Regions from separate parts of the Homo sapiens genome. Here region 2 is linked to region 1. Evidence: promoter capture Hi-C in 16 types of primary human blood cells and fetal thymus (Javierre and others, 2016). All regions are on one chromosome and are shown on one strand. Each heading gives the region's core, a stretch centred on a gene start or on the middle of the fragment in contact. The rest is flanking DNA. Distances are from core to core; before and after follow the strand shown. Region 1 holds the start of CLEC14A (C-type lectin domain containing 14A). Region 2 has its middle 110 kb from the start of CLEC14A.

Evidence for each region. Contacts are between HindIII fragments. The CHiCAGO score rates a contact against its expected background, and 5 or more counts as called.
Region 2: a fragment that was not itself captured here is called in contact with the fragment with the promoter of CLEC14A in region 1 in 1 of 17 cell types (endothelial precursors); the score reaches 5.7 in endothelial precursors.

The regions. Positions count from the first base shown.
Region 1 is chr14:38,254,473-38,257,770 of GRCh38, reverse strand. CLEC14A (C-type lectin domain containing 14A) reads left to right here and starts at 1,678. Exons shown (of 1, transcript NM_175060.3): 1 at 1,678-3,298. The coding sequence starts at 1,749. The coding sequence ends at 3,221. It overlaps LOC112268136 (a long non-coding RNA gene), which reads right to left and starts at 1,726. Exons shown (of 5, transcript NR_169588.1): 1 at 1,326-1,726. RefSeq lists an enhancer at 1,869-2,496. The HindIII fragment of the contact is 4,914 bases long and covers 1-3,298 here.
Region 2 is chr14:38,365,694-38,368,991 of GRCh38, reverse strand. No RefSeq gene overlaps it. Among named protein-coding and RNA genes, the nearest start is that of CLEC14A, 110 kb to the right of the region's middle. The HindIII fragment of the contact is 3,051 bases long and covers 1-3,036 here.

The sequences.
Region 1 (3,298 bases), core at 429-2,928:
GAATGTTCTTTAAATTGGGAAATAGGGCAGGAGAGAAATCCTAGTGCAAAGCTCCATACTCAGCAAAAGCAAGGTAAGTATGATGATGACTCATAGGCTTACTGTTGTTTGTTAAGATACATGGAATTTCCAGGAGGAAAGAAGAATGAGAGTTATGGTAAAAATAAGATGGAAGCATACAGATGTGATCCTGAAACCTTCCCTCCCACCCCTCATCAACCTGAATGCAGTAAAACAAAGTGAGCTTATATGCATTATCCATGGAATGGCAACTTTCATTCTGATTAAAGATATTTAAAAGCATCAGACATCTCTAAGAGGGCTTAGCTGAAACTCTCTATGTATTTCTGATGGCAACGTATTTGGCCATTATGAACCAAGATAGAATGTACGTTTTCTAAACTGATACTGAATTGTCTAAGTTGCTAACAAGAAATCCTTTCATAACAGTACAGTTTTTAACCTTTACTTCTTTATTCATCTTTAATTCCTTGCCACTTCCCACTGAGTTGAAATGTTTATATTAAAACAAAACACCCACTGGAATTCTAAAGAAATTGGCTCACCCATCTTTCAAATTACAAGATATTTTTTGACAGTATACAATATTCATTATAATGGAATAAACATTTTAATTTCTTAAGGAACTCTAATTTTCCTTAAAGGAGATGTTTACAACTTACTATTATAAATGCTGCCACTCAATCATAGGAGAAAATGATACTAAAATAGTTCAAGGCTAAAATCACACATAGGGCAGTTGTTCTCGAATATTTATAAGGCCACGAACTCATTTATGTATAACCTATAAACTTGAAGAATTTTTGAACCAATACAGTGGCAAGGAAAGCTAACAACCTAACTGTTAAGATCTATGGTCATTATTTTTCATTTAGTCCTAGAAATACATTTCCTTTCTGTAATGAATCAATATGGTCTAACTCAAAGAGAAACACGTGGAAGTGAAAAATAAATTTCTAAAGCAAGTGCTGATGGAAGAAGCAGAATTTCCCATTTAAAATACCCAAACAACTCCAAATTCTTTAGTAGTTAGGACTCCTGAAATCTCTTGACATAATAGAGAAGCAAAGACCCATAGAGAGATATGCGGTTAAATAGTGCTGCCTCTGGTGGCAAAAGCAGTTGCTAAGTTGTTTCACAACATATTTTTCCCCCACAGGCACAGGCCCCCCAAACACTGGAGCCGTCTACGAATTATTCTGACGCTAACTCCACAGCTCCGGACAGAAACACAATAGACGGGCGTGGTCTTATAATCATAAGCCAGTTCCTTTCTCAAGTCCTTCCTGCCTATGTTCGCTTACGTGTTATGGGTTCTGCGGTCCTGATGAAACTCCCTGAACGGAGAAAAACCACACACTTCATCCCAGTGGCGAATTTCTCCTCTTGCTCTAAGCAGGGTGTTTGACCTTCTAGTCGACTGCGTCCCCTGTACCCGGCGCCAGCTGTGTTCCTGACCCCAGAATAACTCAGGGCTGCACCGGGCCTGGCAGCGCTCCGCACACATTTCCTGTCGCGGCCTAAGGGAAACTGTTGGCCGCTGGGCCCGCGGGGGGATTCTTGGCAGTTGGGGGGTCCGTCGGGAGCGAGGGCGGAGGGGAAGGGAGGGGGAACCGGGTTGGGGAAGCCAGCTGTAGAGGGCGGTGACCGCGCTCCAGACACAGCTCTGCGTCCTCGAGCGGGACAGATCCAAGTTGGGAGCAGCTCTGCGTGCGGGGCCTCAGAGAATGAGGCCGGCGTTCGCCCTGTGCCTCCTCTGGCAGGCGCTCTGGCCCGGGCCGGGCGGCGGCGAACACCCCACTGCCGACCGTGCTGGCTGCTCGGCCTCGGGGGCCTGCTACAGCCTGCACCACGCTACCATGAAGCGGCAGGCGGCCGAGGAGGCCTGCATCCTGCGAGGTGGGGCGCTCAGCACCGTGCGTGCGGGCGCCGAGCTGCGCGCTGTGCTCGCGCTCCTGCGGGCAGGCCCAGGGCCCGGAGGGGGCTCCAAAGACCTGCTGTTCTGGGTCGCACTGGAGCGCAGGCGTTCCCACTGCACCCTGGAGAACGAGCCTTTGCGGGGTTTCTCCTGGCTGTCCTCCGACCCCGGCGGTCTCGAAAGCGACACGCTGCAGTGGGTGGAGGAGCCCCAACGCTCCTGCACCGCGCGGAGATGCGCGGTACTCCAGGCCACCGGTGGGGTCGAGCCCGCAGGCTGGAAGGAGATGCGATGCCACCTGCGCGCCAACGGCTACCTGTGCAAGTACCAGTTTGAGGTCTTGTGTCCTGCGCCGCGCCCCGGGGCCGCCTCTAACTTGAGCTATCGCGCGCCCTTCCAGCTGCACAGCGCCGCTCTGGACTTCAGTCCACCTGGGACCGAGGTGAGTGCGCTCTGCCGGGGACAGCTCCCGATCTCAGTTACTTGCATCGCGGACGAAATCGGCGCTCGCTGGGACAAACTCTCGGGCGATGTGTTGTGTCCCTGCCCCGGGAGGTACCTCCGTGCTGGCAAATGCGCAGAGCTCCCTAACTGCCTAGACGACTTGGGAGGCTTTGCCTGCGAATGTGCTACGGGCTTCGAGCTGGGGAAGGACGGCCGCTCTTGTGTGACCAGTGGGGAAGGACAGCCGACCCTTGGGGGGACCGGGGTGCCCACCAGGCGCCCGCCGGCCACTGCAACCAGCCCCGTGCCGCAGAGAACATGGCCAATCAGGGTCGACGAGAAGCTGGGAGAGACACCACTTGTCCCTGAACAAGACAATTCAGTAACATCTATTCCTGAGATTCCTCGATGGGGATCACAGAGCACGATGTCTACCCTTCAAATGTCCCTTCAAGCCGAGTCAAAGGCCACTATCACCCCATCAGGGAGCGTGATTTCCAAGTTTAATTCTACGACTTCCTCTGCCACTCCTCAGGCTTTCGACTCCTCCTCTGCCGTGGTCTTCATATTTGTGAGCACAGCAGTAGTAGTGTTGGTGATCTTGACCATGACAGTACTGGGGCTTGTCAAGCTCTGCTTTCACGAAAGCCCCTCTTCCCAGCCAAGGAAGGAGTCTATGGGCCCGCCGGGCCTGGAGAGTGATCCTGAGCCCGCTGCTTTGGGCTCCAGTTCTGCACATTGCACAAACAATGGGGTGAAAGTCGGGGACTGTGATCTGCGGGACAGAGCAGAGGGTGCCTTGCTGGCGGAGTCCCCTCTTGGCTCTAGTGATGCATAGGGAAACAGGGGACATGGGCACTCCTGTGAACAGTTTTTCACTTTTGATGAAACGGGGAACCAAGAGGAACTTACTTG
Region 2 (3,298 bases), core at 262-2,761, 110 kb before region 1:
TTTTTTAGTGTGACCTCTATGTATTATATTTCATCTTTTTATGCTTAAGAGACTAAAGACTAAGAGAAATTGAATTTTGAGAAAACAAAATTTTGACAACAAACTAAATCTCTTATGCTCTTGAGGGTAAAATAATTATTAATGTGGGATAGAAGATGTCATGGAAACTATTATTTTGAGCCAAATTCTAAAATAAATAAAAATACTAAAAGTTTCCATATATTATTATAGTTTTAAAAAAGCAAAACATCTATTAGTGAGGTGGCTTTCATACCATAACAATTGTAAATATAGTATAAAGTGATGAATTCTATCCAATTAAAATATAGAAACATCCAGTTAATTATCAAGATGATCCACAAATAACAGAGTTCAGAACTGGTCAAGGTGGTAATTAACAAGTTCTGAATTACACAGACAAGTTCTGCATAAAGTAGAGAAGGTTATAACAAGAGCTAGTGAAACAGATAAAAGGAAGGCTAAATTAGCAGTTTTTCTATCCTGTTTCCAACACTTTAATTATCTGAAGGAATGCTATGTTATTAGAGTCTCAACAAAAATTTCATAATAATTTTATTTCAATTTGTAATCATTCCAAGTGCCTGTAATCATTCCAAATGCCCGTACACAGGTGTCATAGAACTCTTCTGTAGTAAATGTTATAAACTCAAAACAGTGATACATTTGTATCACTCCAGGCAGGTTAGGAGGCACGACTTGATATATCTTGGTATAATCCATCTACGCTCATCCTGCCCCACCTCAGCAGAGTCCTGTGGATGGAGCTCTTAGATTGGAAAGACATGCATCCTGTCCTAAAGAGGAACGCTGAAAAAACTTCCTTACTGTTACTCTGAAGATACAAATTCTCCCTTCCCAGTCATACTCCTCCCTAGAGAGCCAGCCCCAAAGCCCTGCCTATCCTGCCTGTACCCTGTGGCTTTACACTGTCCCAGGGTCATTGCTAATTAAAGCTGAACCAATCAGATTCCATGAGAAATTTGAGTGACGTGGAGTGTAAACCAGTGAAACACATGTACTAGCTTGAAAGAGAGATTATGTAGAGCTGGGAAAGCCATTTTCATATTTCTACCATATAAGACCTGCAGCAAAGGAGCTTAACAGTAGTGAGAAATAGGAGGAGGAGGCCAAGGTGATTGTACCACTTTGACCACAGACAGGGAGAGAGACTTTTTGGTTTTCCAGTTCTCAGTTTTCCTGTTTGGACTTCCTGCCCTGGTGTTCTCTGCTTCAGTAAGATATCCCTGTGTTACTAGGATAAGGAATGCTTAAGTCTGTTGAAATGAACTTGTTTGTCCAATCAAATAGTCCCTGATTATGGCAATCACAAGCTGATCCGAAAGTAGTAGCAACCCTGTGCCAAGTGGCCAGACAGCCTCGGACTGGGTTTCAGTCAAATCTGATTAAGTTACCTCTCCCTACAGGAGAAAATAGCACCTTTACTCTAATAGCCTTTCAGCAGGTTTTTAGCAACACTGGTGTGTCTTATTCGCTCATAATTGTAAAATTGCAGAATTTTCTACCTGGAGTGGAGACTTAATAATCACATTTAGCTTTCTTATTTTGTCAGTGGGAGGACTGAGAAGCAAGGAGGTTGATTGTCTTGTTCAAGGGCTTGGGAAATTCCTAGCTTGGATCTCTTCATTTGGCCTCTCTCCACAGGACCTTTGCTGTCTGTTGGTAGAGGGGTCTTTTGAGTTTTCTTTCCTTGTAAAGGGAAGGTTCTGCTGCCCATAAAACCTTCAGCTAACTTTGTGGATCCGCTAAGAATCATGTTCAGCTGCATATAACAACATGTCAGATATATCAATGGCTTAAACTTATGAAGATATATTTTATTCCACATAAAATAAGTTTGGAGATGTGCAGTCTGGGGAAGATATGGTGACCCCATGATCATCAGGGACTCATCCTCCATCTCTATTTCTGCTCTTCCATTCTTATTTGACTTCCATCTGCTCTTCCATTCTTATTATTTGGCTTCCATCTGCAGGATCACCACAATAGTCCAAAATGGTGTTTGGAGCCTCATCTATCATATCTGCATTCTAGGAGGTAGGGTGTGGAAAAGGAAGGGGCAAAGTGACACATGCCAGCTGTCTGTCTTCTCATTCTAATAGCTTTTGTTTACTTCTCACTGGTCATAGCTCAGTGAAGTGGCCACTTTAATCTCAAGATAAGCTGGGAAATGCATTATTTTAGCTAGGCACATTGCCACCCTAAATAAAATTGGAGCTCTCTTACTAATAAAGAAAGGGTAAATGAATGTTGAAGCAGCAATGAGAAATCTATGCCATACCTTCCTGGACTTTTTCTCTAGCGGATATCTTAGAATGTTCCCATCATTAGGGGGCATCCTAAACTGTTGGGGAAGTTCTTTCTGAGTCATCTCCTTTTCCTGTTAGATCTCCCCATCCCCCTAAACAATGTCAATCTGAACCTCTGTCTAGTTCTAGTATCCACCCACTATGAGCTGACTCCTTTTATCCTCTCTTGGCAGAGGTTTTGCTGTAGCACATATCGGCACCAGCAATAGTAAAATGCATACCCCAAATATGCTCCATTTACTGTCTTTTTAAAAATGCTTTTCACGTCATTACCGAACCCTAAGTAGGAGGAAGACACTCCTTAGTCAGTGGTAAGGCAATCTCTGCTCCTCTTCAAAAGGTTGTCTGTAGAATGATGATAATAACAGTCTCAACCAGTAAGATGTTTTATGATGATGATATAAGTTAAAATAATGTGGAAAGCACTTAGGACACTGTTTTGGAACAAAATAAGTCCCCTATGAATGTCTGTTATTGTTATTATTCATTAATATTATGATTGTTATTATTATCAACACATGGCTTTTTTTATACTGAGGAATATTTAATGATCATCTAGGAAAAAGATATTCTTGTCTCCTAAACAAAAATTCCTCCCAGGAGAATTATTAATGGGCCTGTAAGGCAAGGGAGAGGCATTATGTTCAGGAAGCCACTGCAAGAACAGCTATATAATACCATACAAGCTTTACCAAGTCACCTAGTTGGTAAAGTGGTACTTTACAGTGTGAGTGTTGGGAGACATGCTTCCTGTAAGAGAAGCTTCTCATCTCCAGGAGGCCTTCTGAGCCAAGGATGGTGATGAGGTGGCAAGGAAGATACTTAGAGAAGAGCCAACACACCAAACCAGAGGGAAACATGCTAAACTGTCTCCTTCACAAGTTTTCATAGACTTGTATCTGGTAAGCTGGGTTCCAGGTGTTTTTGGATGAAATTCCTACTGATTGAGT